Linked DNA regions of Homo sapiens: all the other regions are linked to region 1. The links are contacts of gene promoters, found by promoter capture Hi-C in blood cells and fetal thymus (Javierre and others, 2016). All regions are on one chromosome and are shown on one strand. The core of a region is centred on a gene start or on the middle of the fragment in contact, and the rest is flanking DNA. Distances in the headings are between cores, read along the strand shown. Region 1 holds the start of CD302 (CD302 molecule). Region 2 overlaps BAZ2B (bromodomain adjacent to zinc finger domain 2B). Region 3 overlaps BAZ2B (bromodomain adjacent to zinc finger domain 2B).

The links. Contacts are between HindIII fragments. The CHiCAGO score rates a contact against its expected background, and 5 or more counts as called.
Region 2: a contact is called between a fragment that was not itself captured here and the fragment with the promoter of CD302 in region 1, in 1 of 17 cell types (neutrophils). The highest score is 5.2, in neutrophils.
Region 3: a fragment that was not itself captured here is called in contact with the fragment with the promoter of CD302 in region 1 in 1 of 17 cell types (neutrophils); the score reaches 6.5 in neutrophils.

The regions. Positions count from the first base shown.
Region 1 is chr2:159,795,892-159,800,397 of GRCh38, forward strand. It overlaps CD302 (CD302 molecule), which reads right to left and starts at 2,317. Exons shown (of 6, transcript NM_014880.5): 1 at 2,241-2,317. The coding sequence starts at 2,307. The region is part of intron 33 of LY75-CD302 (LY75-CD302 readthrough); the gene reads right to left. It overlaps LOC124906083 (a long non-coding RNA gene), which reads left to right. Exons shown (of 2, transcript XR_007087273.1): 1 at 1-2,061; 2 at 2,928-4,361. The HindIII fragment of the contact is 1,931 bases long and covers 1,669-3,599 here.
Region 2 is chr2:159,469,174-159,473,679 of GRCh38, forward strand. The region is part of intron 3 of BAZ2B (bromodomain adjacent to zinc finger domain 2B); the gene reads right to left. Among named protein-coding and RNA genes, the nearest start is that of BAZ2B-AS1, 140 kb to the right of the region's middle. The HindIII fragment of the contact is 2,198 bases long and covers 1,484-3,681 here.
Region 3 is chr2:159,504,037-159,508,542 of GRCh38, forward strand. All of the region lies in intron 2 of BAZ2B (bromodomain adjacent to zinc finger domain 2B), which reads right to left. Among named protein-coding and RNA genes, the nearest start is that of BAZ2B-AS1, 110 kb to the right of the region's middle. The HindIII fragment of the contact is 995 bases long and covers 1,454-2,448 here.

The sequences.
Region 1 (4,506 bases), core at 1,067-3,566:
CTCAGCTCATGCCAGGCATAGGAAACCACTGACCAAATAAATACATACTGATCATCTATTATGTGCTTAAGCACCCTTACGGAAAAACTTTTTAAAGCGATGCCATGGATTTTCACTCAGGAATTTAAAGAATGTTTTGTCCACTGTGATTTTCAAAATAATAGCTAAGAACAAGGTTAAGATCACTTCACTAATAACCTCCAGAATGACAGACAATAACAATGATTTCCGTTTCAACATCACATTTATATGCAATACCCATATTTATTATGCAACATCATAAGAGCTTTTCTATTAAGATCTTGGTATTCAGCAACAAACTCTTTCTTGACTTAGTTCTAAGCCAAATATGACCCCTGATCTTGCTTGGATGGGAGATTTGTAAAGTATTATGAAAAACACACTTAGTTTTTCAGCCCTATAACATTAGCATACATATGAATGTGTTCAGTAACCATAAACATCCAATATACATAAGGTGGTATTCATACGTTTTCTGGTTGCAACAATTACCCTTCATTTTGTATGAAGAGAATAAAGGGAAGGAAACCAAGATGAACCACGCCTGTAATAGGGACTAGACGTGGAGTTCCCACTTAATGCTCCCAATAGCCCCATGAGTAAGTATTATCTCTGTTTTACTGAAGTGCAGATAAGTTGGTTAACTAGCTAGGTCAAAGCTCACACTCATTTCCAAATTAATCCTTAAAGCTTCCTGACTGGGAGGAGCTGATTAATTAACATTAATTTATTCATCATGCACTTTTCTAAAGCTCTTGAAAAGCCTATTGATCCACACTGGACTTATCAAAGGAAATGCACAAAAATTTCCAAAGGGAAATTTGCCCTCTATTGCTGGTCAAAACAGCTTCACTGAAGAAGAGACATACCAAAATCTAGAAACTGATTTTCTTTAAAAGTCTGACAAGAAAGAAAAATCTGACAAGAAAATTCGACTAGCCTAAAGTACAAATGCACAGCCTCGCAGAGGGTGGTTTACATGAGAGTTGAGATGTTACTGGCTCGCAAAATGAGGGTGTGCAGAAGGAGGGTTCAGAGACAGCCCAGCTTTGTCTTAGACAAAATTAATGTTCCCAGTCTGAACAATGTGAACATGGGCACATCTTGTTTCTGCCCCTTTGATAGGCAGCAGATGTCACAACCAGTCATAAATGCAGGTCCACAGAAGTTTTCAAGAAAGGAACCTTGGGTTTGTATCCAAGTTCTGAGCTGCTGCTGCCTCCAACACTGAGGTCCACTGAAATATTCCTGTCAGTAGACTTCGAGCAGGCAGTTATTATAAAAACGCAGTGAAATCTGGGGCAAGGGGTGGGGGGGGGGAATCTCTTGCATTTTATTTAAATCTCTTGCACTTTATTTAAGCCCACACAAGTACTCATTTAGTTCTTGTTTATTTTGCTCTTTAATTCCTGGAATTATTCAGTCAGTGGTGTTTTTGGAAGTCTGTGTTCTCCAGAGTCTCCCCATCCACATATTTTTGACATGCTTGTATGGAAATTTTTTAAAAATAAAGACCACGGTCAATAGAATTGTGCATTTTCCTCACGAGTCGTTTTGTAAATGAATGATCACGTGTGTGATTTTTCAGATGTCACTTGCACAACAGCAGACTAGAACTTTAAAACTCCTTGATTTCAGTGAAATCCAAGCTTTGCCTATTCCCGTTCCTCTTCCATCCAGGGGTTATTTGGCTGAACTGTTTTCCTGTTTAAACAACTTGAACACCAACCAACTAGACAAACAGCGCTGCTTGCAAAAGAGGGCCTACTTCCTCCGGCCCCCACCCCCATCCCAGCAACCCCACTCCGGCCGCGCACCAGCAGGGGAAATCGCCACCAACGTCCCCGCTTCTCATTTCAGCCCGAAATTGCCCTGAAACGGCGCCCGTCGTGCGACTCCAAGTCCCTCAGTTCTCCGGCCAACTGGCCTAATTTGGGGGTTCCCTCCCCGCGGAGTGGGGTCTGCGGTGAGGATGTGGACTCCGAGGAAGACAGAGCCCTCCCTTATTCTCGGCCACCTCCCCTCCCCGAGGGCAGGCGGGTGAGAGGTGACCCGGAGCCAGGACCCACGGGGGACGGGCGTGCAGGGAAGGGCGGGATGGCCGGCCGGGTGTTGCGTCTGCGGGCCGCCCTCGGGTGCGCGGGGACGAAGAGCGTGCGTTGGGAAGGGGGCGAAGGCGGTCGCGCACGGTCCCGGCGAGGGACTACGTAAGGGCTTACCCGCGACGGCAGCAGCGGCGAGGCCCAGCAACGGCAGCAGGAGCGCGGGCAGCGCGGCCCGGAGCATGACGGCGGGTGCGGGTGGGCGGCAGCGGCTGCGCGGCCGGAGAGGAGCGGGGCGGGGCGGGAGCGGGGGCGGTGCTTCTCGCGTGCGAGTTTAATCCCCCCCCCGGGCGGAACGTGAACGGCACTGGGGGCTCCCACCAGGAGAACCCGGGTGTCCCGTCCCGCAGGAGCGGCTGGCGCGCGGCCTTCTGGAACTTCTAATTTTTGTTTTTTAAACTTTTCATTTGAATTGAAATAATTTAGGACTTTCGAAAATGTTGCAAAAACAGCACAAGAGATTTCCGTAACCCTTCAGCCAGCTTCTCTAAATATTGACATTGTATATAACGCCAGTGCAGTGATCAAACACAGGGCACTCGCACTGGGATAATGCGATTAGCTAATCTACAGCACTTACCACATTTCATTAATTGCCCCTCTAAGGGTCCTTTTCTGTTCCAAGATTCAATCCAGGATCATACATTGCATGTCGTGTCTCCTTAGTCTCCCTTTAATCTAGGACGGTTCTCTGTCATTCTTTTTCTTTCACGATCAAACCACATTTAAAAAGTACTGGCCAGTCGTTTTGTAGAATGTCCCTCAGTTTCATTTTGTCTGACATTTCCTTCTAATTGGATTCAGGTTGCGCTTTTTTGGGAAAGAGTTCCCCAGAAGTGATGTACGTGCTCGAGAAGGACAAGATGTCGATGTCTCATCACTGATGTTAACTTGGATCAGTTGGTTAAGGTGGCGTTTGCCAGCCTTCTTCTTTGGATCTACTGGCCAGAATCCTCCTTTTCAAAGACCCCTTTCAGTGGACTATGTCTCTTAGACAACTTTTCTCTGTTACCAGCTCCTGGATGAAGAGTCTTTAAGCTATGTTTGCTACAATGTATGCATAAACTGTGCAATTATACTTCACCCATGAGGGCCTCTGGACAACACTAGCCAGGGTCAAGCAAGGGTGCTTGTTTAAGCCTCATGTCATTGGCAAAAGAGTTCTATAAAATCAAGTCTAAACTCAACAACGTGAAAACAAATGACCCAGTTAAAAAAAATGGTCAGATGATCTGAATACACACGTCATCAAAGAAGTTATATAATGGCAAATAGATGAAAAGATGCTCAACATCATATGTCATTGCTGAATTGTATATGAAAACAAAAATGAAATACCACTACATACCTATTAGATACCAGAATCCAAAAACACTGACAAGACCACATGCTGGCAAAGATGTGGAGCAAAAAGAACTCTCATTCAATGCTGGTGCAAATGCAAAATGGTACAGCCACTTTGGAAGACAATTTGGAAGCTTCTTCCAAAACTAAACGTACTCTTACCATACCATCTAGCAATCACAACTCCTTGGTATTTATCCAAATGAGTTAAAAACTTACATACACACAAAAACCTGCACATGAATGTTGATAGCAGCTTTATTCATAATTGCCAGAACCTAGAGGCAAACAAGATGTCCTTCAATAAGTGAATGGATAAACAATGGCACATCCAAACAATGAAATGTTACTCAGTACCAAAATTAAATGAGCTATCAAGCCACAAAAAGACATGGAAGAACTTTAAATATGTATTGCTAAGAGAAAGAAGCCAATCTGAAAAGACTGCATACTATATGATTCCAACTATATGACATTTTAGACAAGGCAAAACTATGGAGACAGTAAAAAGATAAATGGTTGCCAGGGGTTGGGGTGGGAAGAAGGAGGGGATGAATAGATGGAACACAGAGGATTTTTAGAGCCATGAAATTATTCTGTAGGATACTGTAATGGTAGATGTGTATCACTATACATGTGTCAAAACCCATAGAATGCACAAAACGAAGATGAACCCTAGTGTGGACAATGGACTTTAGTTAATAATGTGTCAATATTGGCTCATCCACTGTAACAAATGTACCTGCTAATGCAAGATGTTAATAATTGGGGAAACTGGGGTATGTGTAAGGAGGTACATGGGAGCTCTGTACCTTCTGCTACATTTTTTGTATACATCTAAAACTGCTCAAAAATTAGTCTATTTTTAAAAAAATAAAATCTGACCCTTTCCAACTCTTTCTAACCCTTTCCACACTTCTGATAATCCAGAGTGGTTACACCAAGGAAATTTGACCCAAGGGGTCTATAAGGAGAGTCATAGAGTGTTAGAAGTGGTACTAGTAAGGAAATTGAGTGACCCAAAGAAGGGATGTGATTC
Region 2 (4,506 bases), core at 1,333-3,832, 330 kb before region 1:
TTAAAAAAATCTGTAAAGTTGAAAAACCTCTAGTCACTAAAAAGAAAAGACATAAGTTATGTATATCAACGATGAAAGAAAAAATCTCTCTACCAATCATACAGACATTAAAAGAATGAGGCAATATCTGGAACAACTTTGGGCCCATACATTTAATGATGTAGACGAAATGAACGAATTCCTTGAAAGACACCAACCAAAGCTCATTCAAAGAGAAAAAGATATCCTGAATTGTTCTATGCCTACATTTTTTACTTATTTTATTTATTTATTTATTTTTGAGACCGAGTCTCGCTCTGTCACCCAGGCTGGAGTGCGGTGGTACAATCTCGGCTCAATGCAACCTCTGCCTCCCAGGTTCAAGCGATTCCCCTGCCTCAGCCTCTCAGGTAGCTGGGATTACAGGTGCCCGCCACCATGCCTGGCTAATTTTTTATATATATTTTTAGTAGAGACGCGGTTTCATCATGTTGGCGAGGCAGGTCTCGAACTCCTGACCTCAAGTGACCTGCCTGCCTCGGCCTCCCAAAGTGCTGGGATTACAGGCATGAGCCACCATGCCCGGCCTATACCTACATTTTAAAAGGTGAATTCATGATTTAGTATCTTACAACAACAACAACAACTTAAACAAACAAACAACCAAAACTCTCCAGGCCCAGATGTTTCACCAGTGAATTCTACCAAACATTTAGAGAAAAAATAATATCATTATATATTCTTTGAAAAACACAAGAGAGGCAGGAATCTTACCCACTCATTTCCAACAAATCAACTGCAAGAAAACTATAGACCAATAACCCTCATGAATACAGGTGCAAAATTCCTTAAGAAAATTTTAGCAAATCAAATTCAACAGTGCTTTATTTCTATACTTGCTTTCTGCATGACCAACACTATTCTGAAAGGATAACCCATCATAACCAAGTGGGATTAATCCTTGAAATGCAAGATTGGCTTAACTATAAAAAAATTAATCAATGTAATTTGCCAAAATAGCAAGTTAAAAGGAAAAAGCCATATAATCATTTCAAAAAGTGCAGAAAATGCATGTGACAATATTTAATACCAATTCATAATAAAAGACTCTCAGCAAAGAACGAATAGAAGGGAACTGTCTCAGTAATTGCCAGGGCAGGGATGGAGGGAGGAATTTAACTTCAAAAAGATACAAGGCAACTTCCTGGAGTAATAAAATTGTCCTACAGCCTGGAGGTTACATGAATATATACATTTGTCAAAATTCATTAAAGTATACATTTAAAATGGTGAATTATATTGTACATAAATCACACCAAAATAAAGAAACTAAAAGTAGGAGGGTTTGCATGTGCAGCTTCACTCTGTTCTGAGAGGAACAGATAAAAGCAGGGCAAGCATAGAAGTGGAGAGCCAGTTAGAAAGAACTGCAATGATATAGACGAGAGATTTTAGTGCAGACTAGGGCAGTGGTAGCAGAGACAGAAAGAAGTGTACAGACTCAAGCTTTATTTTGAAGGTAGAATCAACAGACTTTAGATGTGAGGGTGAAAGAGAAATAGATAAATCCAGAGATCACTATATTTATGGCTTAAGCTACTGGATGATTGTGGTATCATTTAATGATAGAGAATGTGAAGGAAACAGGTTTTGGGAGAAAACCAAAAGTTTGTTTTTTGGATGTGTTAAATTTGTTAAGTTTGAGATGTCTATAAAACCTCTATGTAAAATGTATATGTTCAGGAGCTCAGAGAGAAAGTCTGGGCAGAGTCTTCCTATAGGTGTATTTAAACAAAAAGACAAGAAATAACAGGCCTCAGAATCAAGGCTTGGAAAATGCAAGCCTTGATTTATGAGTACAGGAATCTGGGGGAAAAAAAAAACTTAAGAAGGAGTTGTATAAAAAAATTTAGAGAAAAACTATGAGTAGTATAATGGAAGCTAAAAGGAAAGATTTTCAAGAAGAAGAGAGTGGTCAGCTATGTCAAATTCTGCTGAGGTTGAATGAGATGAGGCTAGAAAGATGACACTGCTGTGAGTTGGGATGTGTGTGAAAGACAAGAAGAAAGCATATGTAACTATCTCCTTTCAGAAGTTGGGCTGTGAGCATTCTGGCAGAAAACAGGGCAATAGCCAGAAGAGTATTGGGATATAAAAATGGTTTGGGGGCCAGGCGCAGTGGCTCACATCTGTAATCCCAACACTTCGGGAGGCTGAAGCAAGAGGATCGCTTTAGCCCAGGAGTTTGAGACCAGTCTGGACAACAGAGTGAGTCTCTACAAAAAAAAATTTTAAAAATTAGCTGTGCTTGCCTGTAGTCCCAGCTACTAAGGAGGCTGAGGTTGGGGGATTGCCTGAGCCTCAAAGGTTGAGACTGCAGTGAGCTGTGATCACACCACTGCACTCCAGCCAGACAAAGTGAGACTCTGTCTCCCCCTGGCTCCCCCTAAAAAGAAGGTGTTTTGTATATACTGCTTTTTTTAGGATGGGTGATACTAAGAGCATGCTTTTATACTGATGAACATGATCCAGTAGATAAAGAAGAACTAATGATAAAGTACAGAAGAAATGAAGTACTGAAAAAGTCCTTTATAATCTTTAATAAAAAACCAATAGATATTTGCTATTGTCTGTGAAAGTTAAGAGCCATATCACTTTGAGTTGAGCATTTATTCTATTTGGCTTAATTTATATTCTTACATAGAACAGGATTTCAAAGGAGATTTGTAATAAATATACATAAGCTACTAGATGCACTACTGAAATAGATTTTAAAGAAATGGGCTGTTGAAATGGGAATAAAGTTCATACACATGTATCAGAAAAGTTTATTACAATACAGAGCTGGGGAGATATGGCAGAGGAGCTATAATCAGATGAGTTCAAATGGGTAGATAATTGGTTCATTCAAGATTTGTTTCAACTTCTTTTTAGTGAGCATGGAATGTTTTTCCATTTGTTTGTGTCCTCTCTTATTTCCTCGAGCAGTGGTTATAGTTCTCCTTGAAGAGGTCCTTCACATCCCTTGGAAAGTTGTATTCCTAGGTATTTTATTTTCTTTGTAACAATTGTGAATGGGAATTTACTCATGATTTGGCTGTTTGTCTATTATTGCTGTATAAAAATGCTTGTGATTTTTGCACATTGATTTTGTATCCTGAGACTTTGCTGAAGATGCTTATCAGCTTAAGGAGATTTTGGGCTGAGATGATATATACAATCATGTCATCTGCAAACAGAGACAATTTGATTTCCTCTTTTCTACTGGAAATTTTCTATTGGAAATTTTCTATTCCTCTTTCCTCTATTGGAATACCCTTTCTTTCTTTCTCTTGCCTGATGGCCCTGGCCAGAACTTCCAATACTATTTTGAATAGGAGTGGTGAGAGAGGGCATCTTTGTCTTGTGCCGGTTTTCAAAGGGAATGCTTCCAGCTTTAGCCCATTCAGTATGATATTGGCTGTGGGTCTGTAATAAATAGCTCTTATTATTTGGAGATAGGTTCCATCAATACCTAGTTTATTGAGAGGTTTTAGCATGAAGGGGTGTTGAATATTATCGCAGGCCTTTTCTGCATCTATTGAAATAATCGTGTGGATTTTGTCATTGTTTCTGTTTATGTGATGGATTACGTTTATTGATTTGTGTATGTTGAACCAGCCTTGCATCCCAGGGATGAAGCTGACTTGATCGTGGTGGATAAGCTTTTTGATGTGCTGCTGGATTCGATTTGTCAGTATTTTATTGAGGATTTTTGCATCAATGTTCATTAGGGATATTGGCCTGTAATTTTCTTTTTTTGTCGTGTCTCTGCCAGGTTTTGGTATCAGGATGATGCTGGCCTCATAAAATGAGTTAGGGAGAATTCCCTCTTTTTCTATTGTTTGGAATAGTTTCAGAAGGAATGGTACCAGCTCCTCTTTGTACCTCTGGTAGAATTCGGCTGTGAATCTGTCTGGTCCTGGGCTTCGTTTGGTTGGTAGACTATTAGTTACTGGCTCCTCTTTGTACCTCTGGTAGAATTTGGCTGTGAATCCATCTGGTCCTGGGCTTCATTTGGTTGGTAGACTACTAGTTACTGCCTCAGTTTCAGAACTTGTTATTGGTCTATTCAGGGATTCGACCTCTTCCTGGTTTTGTCTTGGGAGGGTGTATGTGTCCAGGAATTTATCCATTTCTTTTAGATTTCTAGTTTATTTGCATAGAGGTGTTTATAGTACTCTCTGATGGTAGTTTGTATTTCTGTGGGATCAGTGGTGATATCCACTTTATCATTTTTATTGCATCTATTTGATTCTTCTCTCTATTTTTTATTAGTCTGGCTAGCAGTCTATTTTGTTGATCTTTTCAAAAAACCAGCTCCTGGATTCATTGATTTTTTGAGGGGTTTTTTGTTTCTCTATCTCCTTCAGTTTTATTCTGATTTTAGTTATTTCTTGTCTTCTGAGAGCTTTTGAATTTGTTTGCTCTTGCTTCTCTAGTTCTTTTAATTGCGATGTTAGGGTGTTGATTTTAGATCTTTCCCGC
Region 3 (4,506 bases), core at 701-3,200, 290 kb before region 1:
ATTTATCCTAACATTAAATAAACATGACTTGCAAAGAATATTATACAAATTCTTCTGATAAGAGATGCATGTTGGCACTTAGGCCTCTTAATTTTTTTTTTGTAATACTTCTTTATTTTATTTTTTTAATTTATTATTATTATACTTTAAGTTTTAGGGTACATGTGCACAATGTGCAGGTTAGTTACATATGTATACATGTGCCATGCTGGTGTGCTGCACCCACTAACTCGTCATCTAGCATTAGGTATATCTCCCAATGGCCTCTTAATTTTAATAAAGTGTTGAAACCTTAAAAATTTTTTTTAAGAGATGAGGGTCTTACCATGTTGCCCAGGCCCAAGTGCAGTGGATATTCACAGGCAGACCCTAGTGCACTTTAGCCTCTAACTCCTGGCCTCAAGCAATCCTCCTGCCTCAGCTTCCTGCGTAGTTGAGACTACAGGCACATAGCACTCTGTCCAGATTGAACCTTAAAATTTAACTTGCCAACCAAGAAATCTATTTGTGCCAATAAACTCTGCTTTTCCATATTTATATCAAACTTCTCAAATTCACTAAAGGCAGGGAGTTAGGCACCACTAGTTTATTTGTGTAAGCTAATTTTATTTTACTAAAAACACATCAATACCTTGGGATTAATCCAGTCACATTTGGTTTATCAGTCCCATATTGAACATCCTTCTCTCTTAAGACATATATTGGAATCTCATAAAAGGCAAATAGGGTTCTACTCAGCTTAAACCGTAAGATAATTTTTATATAAATATGCAATACTATATACAAATACATAAAAACACAAGTCCAGAACATTCCTTTAGCTATCAAAGTTCTACATGAACTTATTTGGTTCTCTAGTTCAATCTGTATATATAAGCTATATTTTAAACAAAGGTGCAGAGAGCAATTATCTTTCACAATCTGCCTTAGATGATAGAACTTAATTTATAAAGCTACATATTTATTATATAATCATGCTCAACTGATTTTAATCTTGATGGACAAAGAATAATATTATGAAAATGACTTATGCAATATCTTCAAATAAAAGTAATAAGCTCATTGTAAATGGAGGTAGTCATATACTTAGAGAAAACTTGACCAATAAAAATCTTAATTTAGAAAACAGTGAAGCAAAGAAGTATATGTAATTTCATAGAAGAGAATTCCAGCAGAGTGTCATCTCGTAGTTTTTCAAGTATTTTCTGAGTGTAAAATGAATTTTTTACTTCATAAACAAGTTTACCATACAATTCCTTTAATGTAATGATTCACAAGCCTGGCTGCATATTAGAAACACATGGGGGATCTCAAATATATATAAATCTGTGACAAGGCCCATCTCCAGATCAATTATATCAGAATCTCTGGGGGTGGGGATGTAAGCATTAACAGGTTGGGAAGCCCTCCAGAAGATTCCAAGGTTAAGAATCACTGCCATAGAGCTTTTATAAGCTTCACTATTGCCAGATTATGTCAATTTTGAAGTTCAAATGAAAATAATAACTAACATTCACTGTCTTGTTGGCCCAGTACTTAATATTAAAGATGCTATAAGACTCACTAAAACAAACAAAAATTTAAAAAGAAAGAAAATATCTGCTAATATAAGGGAATGGGAAAATATCTGCTAATATAAAGAATGGGAAAAATATACAGATAGCTTGGATGAAAAGGTCCCATAAGAAGGCGGCAAGAATATAGAATTCATCATCATCTTAAGCCCCAAAAGCCAAGTAGGAAAATAAAAGGAGAACAATTCATACAAGTAACAGCAGGTATGTGTATAAGGCAGCTTCTAAAACCTGAAACTGACAATGAAAGACTTGAAAAATAATTGGCTTTACTGCTAACTGAGGCTCTGAATAGTTACACATTGGCAAGCTAAGCGTATAATACATTATAAACTATCTACCCGGTGTCCAGATGAGCACTCAGGATGAGAGGTAACAAGGACAGTTGTGAGAACTCCCAGCTATCCTCCTGTCAACAATGACAGAGAATCTGAAACGGATCTCTCCTTTCCAAGAGTCTTCTGCCCCTCCCAAAAATCTCTTACAAGGGCTGGCTGGCAAGTTTACTATAACTAGAGTAGGCATATGGAAAGGTGGTAGCAGGACCTCCACCCCTCCGAAAAAATTTCTACAAGGACATGTGACTACCTGGGTAAGGCTCTCTACCCATGAATCCCTTGCTAGGTAATCCTTACCATGGTCTATTGCTTCTTGAGGCTCTACCTCACCTATATCCAGAGCGAGCCAGGATGACAGGAGGGAAACTGGACCTAGCAATGGAACCTACTGACCCAGCTATCCAGGAGATCTGAGCTGTAATATGCTGTATTACACTAGGATAAATGAATATCCACAAAGTTCCATTTCAACATCATGTCTAAGGAATGATTAACAAGCAGATTTGAACATACAGATACTTATTAGGAAATAGAAAAGCTTCCAGAAAGGGTTGATGTAGACTTCTATTAGCTGCTTAGATGGAGGAATATCTCCTGGTACTTGGGCAGTAACTCCGCAAAGAACCAGATCGGCCCAGTCCAGAAAAACTCCAAACTTTCAGGAAGATTACTATGAATACTTCAGGCACAGCTTAGAAAAGCTTAAAAAAGAAAGCCTGCGTTTCAGAAACTGTGTTATCTATAAGAATACAGGACCAACAAGGGAAACACCATTACCACAATGTCTTTTCTCCTCTCAGTTTTTAACCCTGAAAACTTTCCTTTTGGGATCACAAACAAATAATAGAGAGTACTGAGTTCTTTTCCACCCTCAGTAATTTGTGTCCTAGAGTGAAAGGAGGATAAGAAAAAGGAAAAGAGAAAGAGTAATTCAAGCAAGAGAATCTAACAAGCAAGATAAACTATCCAAAGAGGTCAGAGTCTGAAAACTGGCACTACTGGTGGGACTGATGAATAATCCATTACTCACACACAAATCTCTTGTTCAGTGTCAGGTGCAATACTTTGTGGAGCAGGTCAACATAAAAGTAATGGTACTTCTACTAAGTTATCTAAACTATAATTATAAAAGTTTTAGATTCATGGGGCCCCAAAATAAAGTCTGGTATAATTACAAATCAAGGCCTTCTGAAAAATGCTTAGATGGTCGTCAAAGAGAGATTAGGTGGCTGCAAAGAAGAGCTAAATGGTTTTGAGAACAAAAAACTTGAGGTTTCCTGTGTAAAATATAGCCTGATACATTAAAGAGAAGTACAAAACTTGAAGAAATAGGCTCCAGAAAAAGTTTATTAGGCAACAGATCAACAGCTGATTTAGTAATGAAAGTTAGGCTTCAAACAACTACGACAGTGAGGAGGTTAAAAAAAAAATCTAAACAATTATATCTAGAAAGAATATTAATTCCAAGTTTTGGGTGAAAACTAAGAGTTGGAAAGGTGTTTCTTTGAAGAGAAAAGCAGTGGTCTCCCTAAAAAAATTTCATTTGAATTTCACATATACTAGAGGTCCAGAAAGTTCTAAGGTATTAAGGGTTTTTGAATGTGTGTCTGCTTGTGTATAAGGGATTAATATGACTTCGGAAAATTTGATGTATTTTTCAATCAATGCACTAAAACATTAGGAATCAAATTAGATCTAGGATTCATTATAATCTTCCTACCATGAGAAGTAATCTAAATTGAATAACCAAAAAACTTTAAAATAAGAAAATGAGAAGGGACAAAGTGGGTAAGAGTTATACTAAAGGTATGATTACTTTTAAAAAGAAGGAACTTAAACGTTTTAAAAACGGAGGTTCAAAAGAGATCATGTTGTTTCAAAATGGAGGTAGAGACGTTTTGAAATAAAAATAACAGCACTACGTAAGTTACTTATTTATTTATTTAGAGTCTCCCTCTGTCGCCCAGGCTGGAGTGCAAGTGGCATGATCTCAGCTTGCCACAACCTCCACCTCCCGGTTCAAGTGATTCTTGTGCCTCAGTTTCCCGATTAGCTGGGATTACAGTCATGCGCCACCATGCCCAGCTAATTTTTGTATTTTTAGCAGAGATGGGGTTTCGTCATGTTGGCCAGGCTGGTCTCGAACTCCTGGCCTCAAGCAATCTACCCGCCTTGGCCTCCCAAAGTGTTGTGATCACAGATGTGAGCCACAACGCCTGGCCTATCTATCTGATTTCAAATATGGGCTATTATACAGCCTCATAAATAGAACTTCCATCACAAGTTCAGCAGGTTCCTTGAAATGGAAGTTGGCTTTGACATTTTCTTATCCTCTTTAAATTTTCTATTTCACTTAATTTTTAGTCACAGTGACTTCTTACTTTCTTGCCAGATCAGCAAAGTCAAACTAACAACATTTAAACTACTTATCTAATTACTGAATTTGTATTCGGTAAGTTATTCAGAGTATTTAGTTTGTTACAATTATATGCTCTATAGATTATTGAAATTTTGCTTTTAACCAAGTGGAAACTTATTTCCCAAAAGATTTCTCCAAGTCTAACTTTTGTTAATGATTTAAACACCCTATAATC